7 separate regions of the Homo sapiens genome follow, and regions 2, 3, 4, 5, 6 and 7 are each linked to region 1. The links are contacts of gene promoters, found by promoter capture Hi-C in blood cells and fetal thymus (Javierre and others, 2016). All regions are on one chromosome and are shown on one strand. The core of a region is centred on a gene start or on the middle of the fragment in contact, and the rest is flanking DNA. Distances in the headings are between cores, read along the strand shown.

Region 1 (2,956 bases), core at 209-2,708:
TAGTGAGGGACATTTTGGTTCTTTTCTAGTTTCTGGCTATGATAGGAAGACACAGGAGAAAATCATCTGGACCTAGGAGTTGAGGATGAGTTCATAGGCATGGCACCCAAGTACGATTCATTAAAGAAAGAATTGATAAATTGGACTTCATCAAAATTAAAAACTTTGCCTCTGCAAAATATTCTGTTAAGATGATGAAAGGACAAGCTATGGAGGGGAGAAAATATTTGCAAACTGCATATCTGACAAAGGACTCACATTTACAATGCATAAAGAGCTCTCAAAACTCAACAGTAAAAAAAAAAATCTGATAAGAAATTGGGCAATAGACATGAAGAGACATTTCATGGCCGAGTCAAATCAGCATGTGGAAATATATTTAACATCATTAGCCTTTGGGGAAATGCAAATTGAGATCATGAGAAATCACTGCACACTTATTTGAGCAGTTGAAATAAAAATATAATGATAAAACCAAATGCTAGCAAGGATGCAGAGAAACCAAATTTCTCATCCCTTGCTTGTGAGAATATAACATGATACACACAGCCACTCCCAAAAATAGATTGACAGTTTCTCAAAAAACATGCACTTACCATATTACTCAACAATCACATTCCTGGGCTTTTATCAGAGAAATTATAATTTAAGTTTGCACAAAAAGCTACACACAAATGCTCATAACTGCTCTATTCGTCATGTTTTTATTGGCAGGTAATTTACATACAAAGAAATTCAAAAATCTTAAATTTCACAATTCAATGTGTTTTGTCAAATGCCTGCACTCCTGTCCCTCCCCCACTGTAAGATTTACAACACTCTAGCACCCCCAAAAAGTTATTTCATGCCCCCTTCAGCTAACCTCTACCATGCCACTCCATCCATAAACCCCAAAGCAACTATTAAAAAAAAAAAAAAAAGGCAAAAACCGCAATTACTTTTGCACCAACCTAATACTAGTCTGATTTTTAAATCACAGATTCATTTTCATATAAATGGAATCATACAATGTTTATTCTTTCATACCTGACTTCTTTCATTCAGGAACACGATTCAGAGCTTCTGCTGTGCAGTAGGGGACATCAATAGTTCATTTTCTTTTTATTGTCTGCTAACATTCCATTGTATGGATTCAACCTAGTCTGTTTATTCATTCTTCTTACTGATGAAGTTTTTTTCTCACGGCTTAAGTCCAAGGTGTGTCTTTTTCGTCCAGCCAGGTGGCCCCGGCAGGTCGCTCCTCAGGGACCCACATGGGTCAGGGCGGTGCAGCAGTGACCCACAGGGGCCAGTGCAGTTGAAGTGGCTTTGAAACCTGATTGGAGAAACAGACTGCTCAGCTGTTAAGAACACACAGCGCTCCAGAAAACTGGTGTTCAACACAACGCGTCACTCCGGCTTCCACTGCTGCTGCGGAGAGTCAGGTTCTCCGGCAAGGCCCCGCGCGCCCGCCCCCGCGCGCCCGCTTCTCTGTCCAGGGAACGCCTTTCTGCGGGCGGAGGCGGCTACGAGGGGGCGCTGCGAAAGCGGATTTCCAGGCACGCCTGGCGCCACTAAGCGGCGCTGAGACGGCGCTGCCTCCTGACTGCCGGTTGGAGGCTACAGGGGCTCTGGGGCAAGGGCCGCTTTTAGGAGTTTGCTGGTCACGAGGGGGGACGCGACCTCGTCCAAGATCTGTCTGCAAGGGACCCTTCCCAGCCGATGTGAACACAGCCCGGGGAAAGGGGTCTTCCGGGGAGCAAAGGCAGCCCGGGAAGAGGAGTAGGGGCTGAAACCAAAGGCAGCCTGGGTACCCAGGTTTTCCCAGGGGACAAGTCCCCCAGTTAGCTGGGCACAGGGAGGCATGGAGAGCGGCAGCAACTGCGTTGGGATGGGGCGGCTGCCCCAGGTTGGGGCGGTGACCCATGTTCCACCAGGCCAGGCGCAGGGCTGAGGTGGCTGACTCCTGTTTCACAAGTGAAGACCTGGTCACCCCAGCAGCAAGGCATTCCGGAGTGGGAGAATTCCTGAGTCCTGGGGAGGAAGCCGTGGTTACAGGGCTGTGGCCCTGAGCAGGAGCTGGCTGGCCCAGCAGGGTGGGCCGAGCACTTCAGTCAAGGCTGAGCGCCAGGCACCAGGGACTCAGGTCTGAGAGACCTGATGTACATCCTGCTCCAGAGCAGATCACAGAGATGCGCCCGCATGAATCCCCAGGCTAAGCCCAGAATTCCGTGGAAGATGCCCATGGGCCAGGAACACGGGTAGTCACCGCGCTAGGGCATCACACAGGGCCCCCCTTGGCCAAATACCACGAGGGAACTTAGACACCTGCATGGGGCCATGGAAGTGCCTGCAACCTCACACTCAGGCCTAGGGCTTACCGAGGTATTGCAGATATTTGTGTTCTCAGAGTAGGAGCTTAGGAATCAGTATCTTCTCTTCGCTACAGGGACAGAGATGCAGTGGCCTAGGACACATCACAAATATTTAAAACGATGTCCTTGGTCAAGGACAGAGGTAGCCAAGGCCAGCCTTCTCCCAGGAAACTAACCCAGGACCCCAAAGCACAGAGCTGTTAGGTGGGAGGGAATTGGTCTGTATGTCTCCCTATAGTGTTGCAACACTTCGGCGCTGGGCTCCCTGTCCCAGACTCACCTTCTATACTCAAGCCAGAGGCCTACGAAAGCCGGGTTAAGATCTTCCCCTGCCTGTCCCTGTAAAGCTTCCCCACTGTCTCTGGAAATCATTTGAGCTTCTTAGCCCCACAGCATGAGCCCGCTCTGACTCAGGCCCTGACAAGCTCTTTCTCTTCTGTCTCTCCCTCCTCTGTTGATATGGACACACCATTCCTTTGGCATGTCTAGTACAGACCAGATCCCCTGCTGTTGTTAGCATTCCTCCCTCTCCCTGGAATGTTCTTCCTTATCTGTCTACCTGATAAGCACTGAGTCATCCTGCAAAACTCTGCACAGCTTTC
Region 2 (2,956 bases), core at 305-2,804, 1.9 Mb before region 1:
CAGCTGCAAGAACTGTGGCTCCTCAGGGGTAGGAAAGGGCCAAAAATGGCCCGAGCTCCTCAGTCGCAACTTGAACAAAATGAAGTGGAGACAGAATGGGCAGAACTCTGATTTGAAGTTACAAGTGGTACCCTGTTTTTGCTTACAGGTACATGCAAGAGAGAACCAACTAAGCTAGTCAAGTTTATAGATTGAGTACACATGCATATTTCCATGGGAAAAAAAAAAGGTCAGCATTTATTCCTCTAAGACGATGGTTTTCAAATTGTGGTTCCCCAGACCAGCATCAGCTGAGAACTTGTCGAAAATGCAAATTCTCATACTCACCTTAGACCGGCTGAGTGAGAAACCTTGAGGAAGAAGCCCAGCAATCTGTGTTTTAATGAGCCCCCCCAAGGCATTTCTGATGCCCATTTGAGTTTGAGAATCCCAGCAGCAGGACACTGACTCACAAGTCACCCTGCTCATTTTAATCACCTGGGTGGGGAGGGGCTTTAAAACTGCCCACACCCGGCTGAACGTGGTGGCTCACAGCTGTAATCCTAGCACTTCGGGAGGCCGAGGCAGGTGGATCACAAGGTCAGGAGTTCAAGACCAGCCTGACAAACATGGTGAAGCCCCATCGCTATTAAAAATACAAAAATTAGCTGGTCGTGGTGGCGCAAGCCTGTAATCTCAGCTACTCAAGAGGCTGAGGCAGGAGAATCACTTGAACCTGGGAGGTGGAGGTTGCAGTGAGCCAAGATCACACCACTGCACTCCAGCCTGGGTGACAGAGCAAGACTCCGTCTCAAGGAAAACAAAACAAAACAAAACACTACCCACACCCAGGCTCCATGTCTGGTGCTCCTTCTCCAGTGGTCTGGGGTGGAGCCCAGGCTTCTGTAGCTATTTTCACATCCCCTCAGGTAATTTTAATTTGTAGCCAAAAATGAAAGCCAGTGCCCTAAGAAATTTGGCGTATTTTCTGTTTTTTTAAAACCTCAGAGCAACTGGACAGAACATCTTGCTCTCCATTAGCTTTTGTGCTTTCATTCTTTATTCTTACTTTCATTATTGGTTCTTTTTTTCCAATGTTTTGCCCACCTCCCACATCTTACACATATGCTAAATTGTCCTCTCTCCATCCACACCCACTGCCTTAGCTTGGGCTGCCATCACAAAATATCATAAACTAGGTGGCTTAAGTGACAGAAATTTATTTTCTCAAAATTCTAAAGGCTGGAAGTCTGAGATAGGAGTTTGCCAGTATGGGCAGGTTCTGGTGAAGTCACCTTTCTCAGCTTGCAGACAGTCACCTTCTTGCTGTGTCCTCACATGGCACAGTGAGAGGGAGAGGGAGGGAGAGAGAGAGAGAGAGAGAGAGAGAGAGAGAGAGAGAGAGAGAGAGAGAGCGAGCTCTCTGGTGTCTCTTCTTATGAGGATGGTAATTCCACCATGTGGGCCCCACCCTCCTGACCTTGTCCAACCCTAATCACCTCCCAAAGGCCCCACCTCCTAATGCCATTACAATGGGAGCTGGGGCTTCAACATATGAAATTAGAGGAGACAGAGACACAATTCAGTCCATAGTACCCAGAAACTGAAGATATTCAGTGTTCATCCCCTGGTGAAAAAAATATAAAGGAAATTGAATAGGAGAGAAAGAATATATTATTGAAGTCATACAACCTGTAAATAAAATATTTGTTGTTTTAAATAAATAAATGTTTTAGAAGAGAGCTTTTTACCAGATCTCTTAGCATCAACACCCTACCCCATCTACAATTATTAGCTAAGAATTTCTTTGAGCCCAGTGAAATTTTGCCTTTCATAGCTCCTGCACTGTAGAACTTGTGCCAAGGTCCCATTGTGGAGAGAAAACAACACTTCATTACCGGCCCCCTCCACCCCATCTCCACCTTTACCTCCTGGCCTTCACCCTCACCCTTCAGATGTAAAACTGGAGCTCATGCTAGACTGGCAGGCATTCCACCAATGACCCTTTGGCAGAGAGACCCCTGTGAATTCCCAACCTTGGCCAACAGTCCTACTCATTCTTGGCTAGATTTGAAAAGACTCTTTGTGGCATCATTGGGGAATGAGAAAGAGATTCTGGCATCACTGGAGAGTTAAGAGTCTCTGCAGGTGGCAGGGTTTTGAGCCCCTCAGAGGGCAAGTGATGTTTCCCTGCCGCAGCCTTGCCAGCGACCTCTGCTGGGGCATTCTCATGTTCCTGACTCAGAGGTGATCCCTGAGGCCCTCTGATGCTCCTGAGAAGGTGCTGTTGCTTCTGGAAAGTGGAGATTAGAAGACAATTTGAAGGAATTTTCAATGGCTTCTTAAACCTGTTCCTGAAGCAGATTCCCAGTCAATGACAGCTTCACTTCTGAGGGTAGGTTGCATTGCTTCTCTTGCCAAAAACCTACAGGATTCACTCTCAGCTGAGGGTTGGCATAGCTGGTCAGCCTGGCCAGCTTGAGGCTTGTCGTGGTCTGGGAAGCTAGCAGAGGTGAGTAGGGTTTTTGGGCTTGGGAAAAGGCAGAGGGAGGTATCATAGCCCTTCAAGGTGTGGGTCTCTTAAAGGAGGGACAGCTACACAGGAAAGTAAGTGAAGCCGGGCATGGTGGCTTACACCTGTAATCCCAGAACTTTGGGAGGCCAAGGTGGGAAAATCATTTGAGCCCAGGAGTTTGAGACCAGCCTGGGCAACAAAGCACAAAGTGAGGCTCCAACTCTACAAAAAAAAAAAAAAAAATTAGCCAGGCCTGGTGGTGAACACTGTAGTCCCAGCTACTCATGAGGCTGAGGTGAGAGGATTGCTTGAGCCCAGGAGGTTGAAATTGCAGGGAGCCGTGATCATGCCACTGCACTCCAGCCTGGGTGGCAGAGCAAGACCTGTCTTAAATGAATAAATAAATAAGCATTCCTCCCCAAATGCTCCAGCCATGCTTGAGGAATAAGCAATCCAGGGTAG
Region 3 (2,956 bases), core at 182-2,681, 1.9 Mb before region 1:
TATACGTAAATATACCTGGTCTTTATGTACCTATTTGTAATAAAAGGAAACATACTAGGCTATTCCATACCTTTTGTCACTTAAAGAATTTTCTAGGCAATTGTTATATGCCAGCACACACAGATCTACTTCCTTCCTTTACACAGCTGCATAGCTGGTTTTCTACTGTGTGTGAACTACAATAATCACTGTTGATGGGCACTTCAGTGGCTTTCAGTTTTCTGCTACTACCAAAATACACTGCAAAGAGCATCCTTTCTCAGATGCTTTGGTGAACTTTTGCAAGAATGTCCATGGGGTTACTTCTTAGCAGCTGGGTTTACAAAGGATATGTACATTTACAAATTTGATGAATATTACCAAATTCCCTGCAGAGAAGTTGCACTTATCTGTAATCTCACTATTGGCATATGAGAGTACTCATTCTCCATGCCCTCACCAGCACTGAGTTTCATCAGATTTTTTTTTCGAGACAGAGTCTCGCTCTGTCACCCAGGCTGGAGTGCAGTGGCCCGATCTTGGCTCACTGCAAGCTCCGCCTCCCAGGTTCACGCCATTCTTCTGCCTCAGCCTCCGGAGTAGCTGGGACTACAGGCACCCGCCTCCAGGCCCAGCTAATTTTTTGTATTTTTAGTAGAGACGGGGTTTTGCCATGTTAGCCAGGATGGTCTCGATCTCCTGACCTCGTGATCTGCCCGCCTTGGCCTCCCAAAGTGCTGGGATTACAGGCATGAGCCACTGTGCCCGGCCTCAAATTTTAGTATTTTATTCTGTAGTCAGGCAAAAACTCATGTTTTCTTTTTAAATAAATACGTCTCAGTTTTGACACTGCTATTGATTTAAAGGGCTTGAGAGATCTGTTCTTTTGCCCCTTCTACTACAGAGCTATGATCTACTTCTTGCTGTTCCCCATCTCTGCTGGTTCCTTTCTGAATCCAAGCACCAGAAAGAGTAAGAATTCCTTTCCCCCTTTCTCTAACCACATTTTTCTTGCTTTCTCACAGACAGATCCAGGTTATCATTTCCTCCTGCTGCTTTCACATGGTTCCCTGTCCTGTTGGTTGCAGGTCCAATGTCTGACACTATGAAAGGGCATGGAGGACTCTTGAGTTGATGACACTAAGCCTCTGCTCTGGGGCTGCCCCCAGTTCCTTGCAGAGCTCTTTCTTTTGATTGGGCCAGGAGATAAAGAGACATCAGCGTAAAAGCCCTGCTGAGCAGCAATCCCATTGCCTTCAGTGGCACCTAATCCACTTGAGCTCTTCCTGGCTCTCTCACGGGTCACTGGCTTTGAGGACGCAGGCTGCTGGGGTGGCAGTGCCTGCTAACAGGCCAGAGACTGCGCAGGACCCAGGGAATGAGAGTGGTGGCAGGAAAGGGAAGGGGCCTTGTTGACTCACTCGCTGGGCAGCAAGTGCTTAGTGACAAGCAGTAAACAAAGACAGCGGCAACAGTGCTGGTGGCAGGGAGCTCCGCGGACAGACTTGCAAGAGACCCCTGCTCCTTGTTGGAAAGTTGTCCCATGATGAAGGCCTAGACCTGGTCACGGAGACTTTTGGATGCAGCCTTTAACGAAGGACGCAGGTATTCCTTGGCATCATTCAGTTTTCTCCTATAAATCTGGTCAGGGAAAGGGCAAACTTCTTACTGGGTCTAGGTATCCGGAATAAGAAGAACACAGCTGGGCAAGGACCTGTGTCAGTGCCCTTTGTGGTATTATTTGGAGTATTATTTGTTCCAGGCCATTGGCTAAGCCTGATAGACATTGTATTTGTTTTTTAGCAATAAAGAATGGGCTCAGAAGAGAAAACATGGACTTTAGAATCAGACCACCCCTTGTTTGAATCACTGCTTTGCTATTCAGCATCTGTGCAAATTCAAATGACTCTTTTAACTTTCCTAAGACTCGTTTTTCTTACCTGTAAAATGGGGATAATAATGCCCCATGCGTTACGATGTTGCTGAGGATTCATGGGGTGACACGCGTAAGGCACTTAGAACATACTTGGAGCATTTGAGTAGCCCAGTAAATCATGGCTGTCACTATCTTTCAGAAGCAAGTGTTTTGGTTATTGCTTAAAGAGTATCAGTGGTTTAAAGTAAGAAGACTCAGGGTATGCCTAGCTGACTTCCAGAAAACAATGGAAAAGAAATGATTCACCTGGCTTTATTTGTATGCTTAAAGGAAAGAAAAAACTCAGTTGAGGTTTTCAACAGTGTAAACAACTTTTTTTTTTTTTTAAAGCAACAATTGAGTTCAGAGATGAGTCGTGTCTATTTCTCCTGGCTAAATCCTGTGATTTGCTATAGGCTGTAGCTGAAACCAATTAAGTAGTTCATTAATTCAACGAGAACTTACTTGGTATCTCCTGGGGCCACATGCCAAATGCTGGGGATGTCTCCCCCAGCCCAGAGGATCTTCCAGGTTGTAGGACAGTGGGGGTCGGGGGGCAGAATGCTGGACCTGCATGAAAACTGGCGGTGATAGCAAGTGCCGAAATGGAGGTGGCACGGGCTCCTGGGAGAGGTGTTGCTTGAGCATGGCTTTAATGCTAAGCGAACACTAGCAGGAGTTGGGAGCAGGGGGATTGGAAAAGGCATCCCAAGCAGAGAAAAGCACATGCAAAGGCCCAGTGGCATGAATAAGTAAAGCATGCTCTGGGAACAGCAGGCAGTTTGGCCTAACTTTAGTAAAGTGGGAACAGGGGAATCTGATAAGAAAGGAGGCTGCAGAGGTGAACAGGGGAGAGCAAGGAAGGCCTTCTATGGCCCAGAGTTCACTCAGAAGGTCCCAGATAGGCACTGGTAGTTTTAATGAAGGATGTGTCGTGTCTGCATTTAATATTAAGAAGATTAATCTAGTAGCAATATGGGTGTGGGATTGGAGAGGATGAAACCTGGAATGATGACAGATGGCCTAACCTAAGAAAACAACAGTGGAATGTAGAGAAGGGGA
Region 4 (2,956 bases), core at 292-2,791, 1.9 Mb before region 1:
TGGGCTAGTGGGATCTCCAATGGCAAAGAAGACTTCTATGCTACTAGATGAGCCCCGAAGCCTTCAGATAGTGGAGTCAGTATAGAGGGTCAGTCTATGTAGGTGAGATCTGGGAAGGTGTATGAGAGATAAGGGTAGTGGAGGGGCCCCCCCAAAATGCCCATTGACTGGATGCTTTCCCAGAACATCCTCACTGTCAGATCTCTCTACGCAGTGGGATCCCTGCATCCTTTACATAGTTAATGATCCCCTTTTCAGTGCATGATACAGCCCACCAGACCATGAAAAACTTGGAGAGGAGCCCAGAGGCATCTTGGTGTGATGGCTAAAGGCTAATGACTATTTCATAGCCTGAGATTACAGGCCCCATAAAGTGCTTCACAGCATTTCCACAGCCAGCATAATATGGTGGGGAAGAGCTCTGCCTCTGAGACCAAGAGCGTAAACCCAAGTCCAAGCTGTGTGACACTGGCCAAGTCACTTAACCTCTTTGTTCCTCATCTTTAAAATGGGCATGATGATAGCCCTATTTCAGAAGGCTGTCATGAAGCTTAAATGAGTTAGCACATAAAGCACTCTGAACAGTGCCTGGCGTACAGTAAATGCTATGGAAGTGTATTGTCGTTCAAGGAAGTAGCAGTGGGCTTTGAAATAGTGTTCACAATATCACACAGAGATAACAATGTTAATTGTGAGTCCAGGCTGGTTGTTAAGGGCTGGTGGGCTAGTGTAGAGAATTATCTTACTTCATAATCTATCACAAGCCCAGTGTGATGGAACACGGTGAGGGTGGTAAGCAAGGGACAGGGAGGTGGGAAGTGGAGTTGGAGAGGTGGGCAGGGCTCATCTGCCTGCCAGACCTCTCAGGTCAAGAAAAGGAATTTGCATTTTTGCCTAGCAGCGATACAAATCTTGGCCTACCTGCTAGCTTGCAGATTATTCATAACCCACACTGTAGTCCTGAGGCCAGCCAGGGAAATTCAGAGCTCTGGATGGTTCCCAGGCTTCCTGCACTCTTCAGAAACCAACTTGCCACTGCGGACAGATCATAACATTCCACCGTAACACTGTGGTTGGTCAGGCAGGGAGTTGGTGCCGAAAACTGGAATGCACACATTTCCTTCTGTAGAGGGATCGTGCTTGTGCATTGGAACAAGCATGACAACTTTTTTTTTTTTTAATTGAAAGGGTGATGAGTAATTTCCTGTCACTGACTCCTGGATCATGGTTATATTTGATATGGAAGTTGTGATCCTGACACGTCCAATAACAAAAACAGCAACTTCAAGCCTCTAGTGACTCTTAGCTTTAACAAAAAGAAGGGTGCTTGATTGGCAAACCCGATCAGTTATGTGCTTTTCCAGATGTTGGATGCTCCTTTTAAAAAAATTCTGATAGGAGAAAAAAGGGTTCCAATCAAAATACATTTTTATTGTCTTTTACATTTACCTATGTTATTATCTTTATGGGTGCTCCCATTTCTTCATGTGGATTTGAGTTACTGTCTAGTGTCTTTTCATTTCAGTCTGAAGGACTCCATTAGGATTTCTCGGAGGGAAGGGTGTGCTAGCAACAAATTTGCACAATTTTTGTTTATGTGAATAGGTCTTAATTTCTCTTTCAGTTTTGAAGGATTGATTGCTTTGTTGTCTACCAAATTCTTGTTTGACAGTCTCCCCTCCAAGTATTTTGATATTGGGTGGGGTTTTTCTAACTGCTTTGTGCCTAGAAAAAAATGCATTAAGTGTTTGAGGCTGGTGTGGCTAGTTAAGACCATACGTCATCCAACTGCCTTTTGGTCTCCATGGTTTTTGATGAGAAATCAGCTGTTCATTTTATTGGGCAGTCCTTGTTTGTGATGAGTCCTAAATATTTTCTCCCATTTTCCTCCATGAAAGTTTATAGTTTTATGTTCTATATTAAATCTATGATTCATTTTGAAGTAATTTTTGCATAAGGTGCAAGGTTTAGGACCATGTTCAGCTTTTTTCCATGATGGATCCAGAACTATTTGTTGAAAAGTTTGTCCTCCCTCCATTGAATTATTGTACTGAAATAATGGTCTTCACTATCCACACCAGCCTAGAAGACTTTTAATGCATTTTTGTCTAGTCATAAAGCAATTTAAAAAACCCCACCCATTCAATATTTTATTTTGGGATTTAGAGATTTTTTGTATAAGAATCATGGTCTTCTTCTTCCCCCTTCTTATCTTTAATAAGCAACCTTTCACTGTGGCTATAGAGAGTTAGAAAAATGTGGTGGAATAGGAATGCCTAGTCCATAAGTCTCAAACAGTTTCTAAAGAGAGAGGAGAGATAAAAAAACGAAAGAAAAGGAAAGGAAAAGGAAGGAAAGGAAAGAAAAAAGAAAAGAAATAGAAAAGAAAAAGAGAGAGGGCCTGGAGTTCAGCTTCTAATTCATCACTTTTTACTTGATTACCTTGGACTTATTTCCTGTCTGTAAATGGAAACAATACTCCCTTCTTCACAGACTCCTTGTGATAAGTGACGGCTCACAGGTCAAGCTTTCTGAGGGGGTCCTGCTGCGGCTCCCTTTCTGCCCCAGGGAGAGGTAGCAGACCAAGCCTCTTTCTCCTGAAACCAGCCTCTCTTCCTGAGGCTGGAGGAGGCTGGTAGCAGAGGTGTCTGCAGGGAGCTGGGCAGCTGGGGAGTAGATCTTGGATTAGTGTGTCAATGGGGGATGGGGGTGCCTCTATGTGCTCCCCATCTAGCGCCCGACACTGCACACCCGCCCTGCTTGAGCTCTGGCTGTAGAGAAAGATCAGTGAGGATGTAAATGGATTAGGAAAAGCCCGCCTGGCTTCTTCCGGTGCCACTCAGCACCTGGGTCTCTGGAGATTAGTGGGTGGCAGCTTTGTCAGGGAGATAGACATTTAAACATCAGCTTTGGTCTAAAGGCCCTGCTTACCAGAAGAGAGGGAAGAGAAGACTAG
Region 5 (2,956 bases), core at 239-2,738, 1.8 Mb before region 1:
CAAAATCACCTTGGGAAGCTTTACTAGATATTGATTTCCTAGGCCTTGTGCCAGACTGACAGAACCATCTTGGGAGTGGTCTCCTCACCTCTCAGGTGACTCAGGTGTGCAGCAAGTGTAGGAACCAAGGTGGCATGGAGTATGCCTGTGTGATCAGCCCTGCCCAGCGGCATGTGTGAAACCCCCTCCCACAGGGTCCTCAGATCTGCTCTGGCCCCTGGAGTGCATAGGCTGCCCCTGGGTGCCAGGAGTGTCAGGGTATGACCACAGGCATGGTCTCGATGGCACTAAGGCCACATATGCTAGTGTCTGTCCATGACTGCCTTCTAGAGAGAACTTCCTGGGGGAGGTCCAGGCTGGGCTTTGGGACATGGGGATACTCAGGAAGAGCCACAGACAAGGGCTCCAGAGCCTGACCTGACAGATCCATAAGAGTTTGCCACATGGGGAGGGAGTGGAAGAGCCCTAGGGGCAGTGGGTATCATATGTGCAAAGACACAGACAGAATGGCCCAGGTGGCTGCCTGGTGATGAACTATCCAGGAGGCTGAACCAAGGCAACAGTGGTCTGGGTGGGGCTGTGGTGGGAGATGAAGAGGCAGAAGGCAGACTCTGGAGGCTCTTTGGCTCTGCCGACCCATTTCTAGAGTCTAGGTAATCCCCTTGCTCCAGCTCTGTCTCTTCATTGGATCTGCACCCACCCAAATTCTCTCTGAAGTTTAGAATTAATTAACCTGTGCTCTGCTGGGACCTGGGGAGACAATGTCAGATCGACAGATTGATCCAGGGCCATATGATTCATTGATGAGGGCCCTGGGTGACCCTCTTAGGAAGCAGAGCCCAAGGGAGAGCTGGAATTTCCGCATGGGAAAGACGTCAGTCAGACAGGCCTCCCAGCTTTCCTGGCCCCTGCTGAGCCTGGCAGAAGGCTCAGATTTGAGTCCAGTTCCTGCCTTACAAACTGTGCAAACCCTAGGCAAGACTCTTACCATTTCTGAGCCTTAGTTTCTCATCTGCTGCATAGGAATTGTAAATATACTTATCTTTTAGAGTTGTCAATTAAATGAGACAATGTGTGTAAAGTGCTTAGTACAGTAACCAGCACACACTAAAGGCTCAATGACTTATAATTGTAGTATAATTGATACTGTTGTTGTTTTCAGACCAAAAAAGGGAAATCCTATTTGGCTCTCAGGGACCTCTGTGTGGTCCTGCTGAACGGGCAGCACCTGGAGGTAAAATGTGATGTTGAATCAACAGTGGGAGCTGTCTTCAATGCCGTGACATCCTTTGCCAACCTCGAGGAACTCACCTACTTTGGCTTGGCGTATATGAAAAGTAAGCATCTCTTGGGCAGCTCACAGCTGGCCTGGTGCCTCTGGTAACCCAGGTATCTGGGTACCTGAGCTCTGTTTCTTCTGGGAAAACTGTTTGAGACTTGGGTGCCTCCCTTTGTATGCCTAGACATTAGTCAGCATGACGAGGGCTTCAAGTACTCATGGATAAAGCATCAAGCAAGTGCAGAAGGTTGTCAGGAAATAATGAGTGTAAGATGTGGGTTTCTGTGGCTTGCTGGATCTGGTTGATTGATCTCAGGGCACTGAAGTTAGACAAACAAGCAAATGTTAAAAGCATTTCCATCTAATGATGCAGGACTAATGGGGACTTAGTACCCTGACCCTAGGAGCTAATTAAGACTCCATTCTAAATATCCAAGAAAAAGGGTTTCTATACCCTCTTCCCTCTCTGACGTTCTATTAGAGACTCTTTATTTCTGCTGTCGACCTAAAATGACAGTGGAGAGAGACAGGCTCTCCAAAAAATGAGTGTATTTGGGAATTAGCAGGAGATTGCAATCTAGGATCCACATGCCATAGTGAACTATAGATGCATCTAAGGAGGTTGGGCAAGGGCAAGCCTTTATAGACAAAGAGAGAAGTACATGTGAGTTGTTTTGAAACAAAAAGGTGATTGGTTCCAAGGGCTTATTTCAGGAGTTGACACCAGTTCATTAGTGAAAACAGTGTCAGGCAAGTGTTCTTGTGTGAGTGGCGAGCTGCCCTTGTGTGGCGAGCTGTCCTTGTGCTGCTGGCTGTCCTTGTGTGACTCATGTAGCAAGCTGTGGTTTGGAAAAAAGTTTCTATGGTATTTTTCATTATAGGCATAGAGCATGAGTGACCCTCCCTTATGGCCTCCCAGCTCCATTTTAGTAGGGTTAAATATAAGTGACTTATTTTGGTATTGATAATGTTTACATTTCTCCCTTTTGATCAAGTTATTGCTCTGAAAGCATCACTGCTGGATCATCCTGTGGTTAGGTTTTGATTGTTCCTCGGTACTGGGATGGACCTTTCCTGGTTGTTCTACTCTCACGTTGAAGGGAAATGACCAGCAAGTAGGAGTTGATGTAAAAACATCTTTCAGCTTCATTTAAGCAACATGGAGGTTTGGAAAGAGTGGCTCTGAGGCTAAGTCTGTCTGGAGTTCATTGTTCTGTTTCATAGGTGTTGGTTGTCATTTCGAAGCACTAGACCAGCGTTGGGCATTTTGGTGAACTCTCTATGTAGCCTGCACATCAGGCAGGAGACTTGTTCCTAGAATTTTACATTGAGTTGTTGTTCAGCTTCAGTTTATAGGGCTTTAGGAACAGAGAAGTTCTTGTTCTTTGTTCTTCAGATACTGAAGGAAGCAAGAAGAATTCAGGGTCCAATTCAGTCTACAGGTAGATTAGAAACACACAAAAGCAATGAACAGGGCTACAGTCAGATAACAGGTGTAATACAATTTTCACCTTCCTTTAGAAGCATAATTTCTTTTCTACAGTTACCCCCATTTTTACTAAAGATAATCACAATAAGACAAATTTGTTTACTAAGTAAGTTTAGCCTCATCAAGTTTGGCCTTGATGCATAAGTGCATCAAGAATAGTGGTTGACCACGTAGGCTCCTTTGAAGCT
Region 6 (2,956 bases), core at 220-2,719, 1.8 Mb before region 1:
AAGTACAAGATCAGCGCTTGAGCCAGAGAAAAGCCATCACAAGACCCTAAGTTTGCAGCCCTGCAGGCAGCAGTCCTCAACATAGCACAGCTGCTGTGGCCTGTGCACAGGAGTGCAGCTTGGGCCCACCGTCTCTTCACCAGCGGGGCAAAAACAGTGGCACTGCAGTCTCCCCGTGTGGGCACACACAATGATGAATAGTCTTTGCTACTCCACAATCTCCCCTTGCTGTGGGCCAGGCACTGGAAAATGGAGACAAAAAGCACATGCTCTTTGTCCCCAGGAAGCCCCATGTCTTGTGGGGAGGACTGCGGTCTACCCACAGGCACACAACTCAATAAACACTCAATGGAACAAGAACAATACCAGCTACTCTATGTCAAGATGTGGGGACCAGGGAGAGAGTGGCTACTCTGCCTGTGCAGATACAGCTGGGGGATAAGTGCGAGGACACTCGCAGCTTCCCCAGGATGGGATACAAGCTGGGCCATTTGATTGGGGGAGCAGTTTTAAAAGGAAGTTAGGAGATTTGTGTATTTCCCTGTACAGAAGTCAGGTAGAAATATTCCATCTGTGTTTTCTTGCCCTTAATTGAGATGGGTACTTGAAAACAGAACAGCCAACATGAGGTTGGGCCTTTGCTTTTCAGCTGGTCATTTTGCAGAACTATCCCTGTATCTAACATGGTGTAGCCTGCAAGCGTTTCATTTGAGAAGCACTGGCGAAGCATGATCAGGGCACTCCATAGTCCGGGCTGCACACGTGTTCCCTGTCAAGGGGACGAAGCATTCCCTTGATGAGGGACCAGTGGGGACTTCAAAGCCATCTGATAATGAGTGGTCACAGAGCCACAGAACTGCAGAACCCAATCTAGAGGCCAAGGACCCAACCCTGCGGCAGATGTCTGCAGGATGGACGCTACCTTCTGGCCTCTGCCCAGACCCTGACTTTGAGTGCTGATCTCACTGTCAGGGTCCCTCGCTTCCTGGTTGAACGATGAAAAATGATTGTAAAAGAAACTACCAGGCTGAGAAGCAAAAATACAGAAAACCATTTTTTTCCCCATTCACAGAAAGCACTGAATAGATTTGATTCCATTTACATGTAATCTTTATCGGTTTCAAGGAGCACTCTTGCTTTTGCAGTTTCCCTTGGTAAACTGGTTGGGGTTGTTAATGCTGGTGTTGCCTGCCTGTGGTACAGAGAGATAAACTAGACAGGGCTTTGTCATCATCCCCAGAGCACATTGGGAGCCTCTCATTAGGATGAGGGTTTGTTAAAGGTTTTCTCCCCCTCCCTGATTATAAAAGTAAACATTTCCTCATAATTCTGCCGCCTGGAGATAGCACAGTTACATTTAGGTATATTCATCCTTCTCTCTTTGTTCTGTGCATTCATATATATATGTATATGCATATATATTTAAAATTAGCTTTATATTATACATGCACTTTTATGTATGTATATAATCCCATAGATCTAAACATTTGAAAACTTCTTTTGAATTAACATATATTGTACTCTAATTTTTTCTCTCAATGCTCTATTGTTTAACATATAAATGGTTTCCAATATGGGACTATTTAAAACAATACTGAGGTTAGCATCTTTTCCATATAAATCTTAGCTGTATTTCTGCTTCATTCCTTAGGGATAGAATCTCATAAGTGGAATTACAGGGTGGAAGGTAATAAACATTTTGAACGTTGTTGATATATATTGCTAAGACACCTCGTGCAGCCGTCATTTCTGGACATTTTCCATCTCTTCTACTGGGCTATAAATGCCTGGAAGGCCGTGGATCCTCAGTGCCCATCACAGAGCCCAGTTACTATTCTACAAGCAATCACTGGATTATTTAATTATAGCTCCTCATGGCTCTTGTTTTTCATTAGAAAAAGGAGAAGACCATTATTGGGAGGCTAGCTCTTGGTCCCCAGTTCACTGATGACTAACTCTGAAAGTTCAGCACCTTGTACTAGCCACAGACTGGGCAAAAGTCCAGTTTGGGAAGCGCTGAATACCATAGTCTGTCTGTAGATTCACAACTATATTAGCTTATTAATCTCAGAATAACCTGTTTAAGGTGAATTCAGTGTTTTCCTAACTTCCTCAACCATGGAGCCATTTTCCCACATAGCTGTGGGTTGTTAATATATTATTAAAAGATTTTTTTCTTGCTATTGAAATCATAATGATTGTATCCTGTAGTTTCTTCCACTTAGCATTATAACAAATGCACTCTCCTGATAATTACAAATGCTTTACAAATATCCTTTGTAAAGGCTGCCTGATAATCAATTTTAAGACAGTACTGTTTTTAGGAAATCGTTTACTGCCAGGAGCTGGTTTCCCCAAATCACCCCACAAATCTGTACTGAACAGCATTATGAGAAGGGGTTGTCCTGATTATTCAGCATATTTTCTTAGGGTAGATACCCACAGGTGGAGTTATAAGGTCAGAGAAGATGAATTCTGAACCCCTTGATGAATATTCAGAAATAACAATCCATTTGTTTTGAAGAATGTTCAATGCAGCAAGGGATGTGTGGCTGGCAGCCAGGAGTGCTTGGTCCCATCTCAACTTTGCTACCTGTTGTAAGGAAGACAGGCCTTGTAGTAAGATGGCCCAAAGCACATGGAGAGGAAATGACCCTCTGAAAGGACACCCAGCAATAGCAATGCAAAGGGGGCCAGGAGAAGCATCCTAGGAGACTCCCTAGCAGACAGCAAATGGAGGTAGACATCATTATTTTATTGTTTTACAGATTGAAGATGTCATTGACAACATTAAGTGTATTCACCTATGTTTCCAGGCCTTTTGGATTCCCTGTATTTCAGTTGTTAAGAGTGAAGACTCAGGAGCAAACAGGCTCATCTTTCCATATTTCCATTCCTGGCTCCAAAGCAGGAACTTGGACAGATTACTTAGAAAAAGGATAGCTTCACTATCTCT
Region 7 (2,956 bases), core at 122-2,621, 1.8 Mb before region 1:
TGGTACCATAGTGCCTCATGCATGCAGAAAATTCTCAAAAAGTTTTTTTTTAAAAGGCTGGCTTTTTCAGTAAGCACAGCCCTGGCAGGGAACCAGACACCATTGTAGAGAAGAGAGGGGGGTCTGTTTGAAGAAATATATGCCCATGGATATCCTTGAAATGGAGGCACTTCACCAGGCTCTAGAAGTGCATGTGCACACACACACACACATACACACACAGAGAAACCAGGAGCCACACCACTACCATGTGTCTGACCGTTCTTTCCTTCTTGGTTTTAGCAAGGCGCAGATGGTCAGAATGTAGTCATCATTTTCCTGTCTTAAAATACTAACTTGGCTTTATGTAAAGCCTCATTAACTTAAAAGCTCTATTTTTCAAATCCCATTTTTTTTATGATCAATGTGAATAGTGAAGTGGGGAGTTAATCACATCCATGGTCTTAAGTTCAAGACTTCATCAAAGTTATTTATTAAACATTTCTGCATGGAAGGAGAAAGGCAAGTGTCAAAGCTGGGGGGAACCCAACACATCTCATATTATATTTCAGGAAATAGGACCTTGTATTAAATATGATTACCAGGGCAAACTACGCTGTGTAGAGATTAAAGGTTATACTCCACAGAGCAGAGCCTAATCTTGGGATCCCAGGAGATTTGGAGGCACATTTGCTACAAGAATGTTTGGGAGGACAGATCTGTAAAAGCAGAAAGCAGAAGGGGATGGGGCAGCTGATTTCGCAGGAGGCTCGGCCGGAGCCCGACACACCCGCAAATACTCTAGGGTTAGCACCCATTTAAACAGGCTCTTTGGCTCTGCGTCCTGTCAGCTGCAAGGGGAGAGAGAGCATCTCGTCTCTTCCTTCTTCTGTTTCTGAGGTTTCTTTCATTAGCAAGTGCTAATTAGGAGACCTTGCATTCCCAGGGATAATCACAGGAGACAAAATAGCAGCAGAAAAAGAAAGGAGGAGGAGAGCGGGGGCCCAGTGATATGTTACAACCACCAGAGCAATGGATCCAGCATCATTCTTGTGTGTGTGTATGTCTATGTTTTTCTCCCCAAATTCAGACCATGATAAGTTTGTGCAAATGGCCAATTTGAGTCCTGCACACCAGGCCCGGTCTAAGCCTCTCATTTGGATTCAGAGATTGTCATGCTCAGAAAACGAGTTGTTTGTATCCAGGCTTCAGGGTGCTGCAGGAGGCCTGCTGAGTACATCAATGGATAACTTCAACGTGGACGGCAGCAAGGAGGCTGGAGCAGAAGGCATCGGGCGCAGGTGGGTGTGACACATTTGTTCTCTGGGCCCAAACCACCATGTGCTTGATGGTTTGCAGTGATCTGTACTGAAGATTTATTTTATTTTTTTTTTGAGACTGAGTTTTGCTCTTGTTGCCCAGGCTGGAGGAGTGCAGTGGCGTGATCTTGGCTCACCGCAACCTCAGCCTTCCAGGTTCAAGCGATTCTCCTGCCTCAGCCTCCTGAGTAGCTGGGATTACAGGCATGCACTGCCACACCCTGCTAATTTTTATATTTTTAGTAGAGACAGGGATTCTCCATGTTGGTCAGGCTGGTCTCAACCTGAGGTCCAGACCTCAGGTGATCCACCCTCCTCGGCCTCCCAAAGTGCTAGGATTACAGGCATGAGCCACCAAGCCTGGCCAAGAAATTGTTTAAACGATGTTAGATGTCTAGGAAAAGTGTATATTTATTGGGTAACTGTCAATCAATTCCACAGAGATTTACAGAAGGCCATCTATGGGCTAAGTCTATGTTAAACACTCTAGGGCCAACCTCTCATTCCTCCTTCTATGATGCTCCCGTCTTTTGGTGAAGAAAGAACTAGATGACAATATGAAATTGGAGAGGACAAATAAACAAGTTGCAATAAGCCTATTTGGCCTTATTATCAGCCAGGTGCTGTTCTGAGCACGTGTACATATCAACTAATTTAAGTCTTATGACTCTGTTAAGTGTTTCCGTTGTTCTCATCACATCACAGAGAGGAAACCCAGGGGTTAGGATTTGAACACAAGCAGCTGGCCTTAGAGTCCAGCTCCTAACCTCTACACCACGCTACCTTTCCTATTGATGAGTTTCTTATCATTTAAATTTATATGTAAAAATAGTGGGCTTATAAATGCAACTTCACATGACAAAACGATTCATAAATTTAAAAATAGCCTAGGACTTGGATTACATTTACACTGCAATTTATAGAAATAGCACAGATTCCCAGGCAGCATATGACCAATGAAGGTTGCTGCAGGAGCTGTTTTTTTGGGATGAGTTTTCCAGCTACTTCAGCAAGAGGGTATGGATGATTCATTTGAACTGAAAGTCTATGTGTGTATCTATATCTATACCTATATCTATATCCATAATTATTGCCCCCAATTCTGTTGATGCAAATGTACATTGCCGTGCACCACAAACTAAATCAACAGTGGTAAGGCAAAACGGTTTCGAGCATCTATTGCTGTGTAACAAACGACCCCAAAGCACAGTGGCTTAAAACAATGACCATTGTGTTATTCCATTTCACAATGAACTGGATTAGAAATTTCACAGTGAACTGGGTTAGAAATTCAGGCAGGACTGAGTTGAGGGATTCTTCTGGGTTTCATGTGGTATTGTCTGGGGTCCAGCAGATGCTGGACTAGTCTAGAGGACGCAAGACGACTTTGTTCACAGGCTGCTTCCTTGGATGGTTGGGAGGCAGTGCTCACGGAGCCCCTCTCTCTCCGTGAGTAGTCTTGACTCCTCTTCATGTGGGGTCTCCAGCAAGGTTCTGCAAGGCAGGAGGGCTCCAAGATCCCAAAAAGAAGCTGTCAGTTCTCTTCAAGTCTAAGCCTGAAGCTAGCCTGGTGTCAGTCCTGCCATACTGCTGGTTAAAATAGTCACAGGTCAGCACAGATTCAAAGGGAGCAGAAATAGTCTCCACTTCTTGATGTA

Evidence for each region. Contacts are between HindIII fragments. The CHiCAGO score rates a contact against its expected background, and 5 or more counts as called.
Region 2: a fragment that was not itself captured here is called in contact with the fragment with the promoter of LINC00842 in region 1 in 6 of 17 cell types (fetal thymus, M1 macrophages, erythroblasts and 3 more); the score reaches 10.8 in fetal thymus.
Region 3: the fragment with the promoter of FRMPD2 here is called in contact with the fragment with the promoter of LINC00842 in region 1 in 5 of 17 cell types (fetal thymus, M0 macrophages, monocytes and 2 more); the score reaches 10.2 in fetal thymus.
Region 4: a fragment that was not itself captured here is called in contact with the fragment with the promoter of LINC00842 in region 1 in 10 of 17 cell types (M2 macrophages, non-activated CD4 T cells, endothelial precursors and 7 more); the score reaches 9.2 in M2 macrophages.
Region 5: a fragment that was not itself captured here is called in contact with the fragment with the promoter of LINC00842 in region 1 in 10 of 17 cell types (fetal thymus, M0 macrophages, M1 macrophages and 7 more); the score reaches 9.4 in fetal thymus.
Region 6: a fragment that was not itself captured here is called in contact with the fragment with the promoter of LINC00842 in region 1 in 5 of 17 cell types (M0 macrophages, M1 macrophages, M2 macrophages and 2 more); the score reaches 9.1 in M0 macrophages.
Region 7: a fragment that was not itself captured here is called in contact with the fragment with the promoter of LINC00842 in region 1 in 13 of 17 cell types (M0 macrophages, endothelial precursors, M2 macrophages and 10 more); the score reaches 11.3 in M0 macrophages.

What each region holds. Positions count from the first base shown.
Region 1 is chr10:46,396,864-46,399,819 of GRCh38, reverse strand. It overlaps LINC00842 (long intergenic non-protein coding RNA 842), which reads right to left and starts at 1,458. Exons shown (of 4, transcript NR_033957.2): 1 at 1,027-1,458. RefSeq lists an enhancer at 2,583-2,956. The HindIII fragment of the contact is 4,014 bases long and covers 1-2,699 here.
Region 2 is chr10:48,299,987-48,302,942 of GRCh38, reverse strand. No RefSeq gene overlaps it. Among named protein-coding and RNA genes, the nearest start is that of MAPK8, 5.2 kb to the left of the region's middle. The HindIII fragment of the contact is 7,001 bases long and covers 1-2,956 here.
Region 3 is chr10:48,273,171-48,276,126 of GRCh38, reverse strand. FRMPD2 (FERM and PDZ domain containing 2) reads left to right here and starts at 1,431. Exons shown (of 29, transcript NM_001018071.4): 1 at 1,431-1,584. The coding sequence starts at 1,560. The HindIII fragment of the contact is 27,288 bases long and covers 1-2,956 here.
Region 4 is chr10:48,252,286-48,255,241 of GRCh38, reverse strand. The region is part of intron 1 of FRMPD2 (FERM and PDZ domain containing 2); the gene reads left to right. Among named protein-coding and RNA genes, the nearest start is that of FRMPD2, 21 kb to the left of the region's middle. The HindIII fragment of the contact is 1,977 bases long and covers 553-2,529 here.
Region 5 is chr10:48,230,496-48,233,451 of GRCh38, reverse strand. FRMPD2 (FERM and PDZ domain containing 2) reads left to right here. Exons shown (of 29, transcript NM_001018071.4): 10 at 1,163-1,337. Among named protein-coding and RNA genes, the nearest start is that of FRMPD2, 43 kb to the left of the region's middle. RefSeq lists an enhancer at 1-46. The HindIII fragment of the contact is 2,936 bases long and covers 21-2,956 here.
Region 6 is chr10:48,208,466-48,211,421 of GRCh38, reverse strand. All of the region lies in intron 13 of FRMPD2 (FERM and PDZ domain containing 2), which reads left to right. Among named protein-coding and RNA genes, the nearest start is that of FRMPD2, 65 kb to the left of the region's middle. The HindIII fragment of the contact is 8,361 bases long and covers 1-2,956 here.
Region 7 is chr10:48,191,008-48,193,963 of GRCh38, reverse strand. FRMPD2 (FERM and PDZ domain containing 2) reads left to right here. Exons shown (of 29, transcript NM_001018071.4): 16 at 1,070-1,280. Among named protein-coding and RNA genes, the nearest start is that of FRMPD2, 82 kb to the left of the region's middle. The HindIII fragment of the contact is 6,884 bases long and covers 1-2,956 here.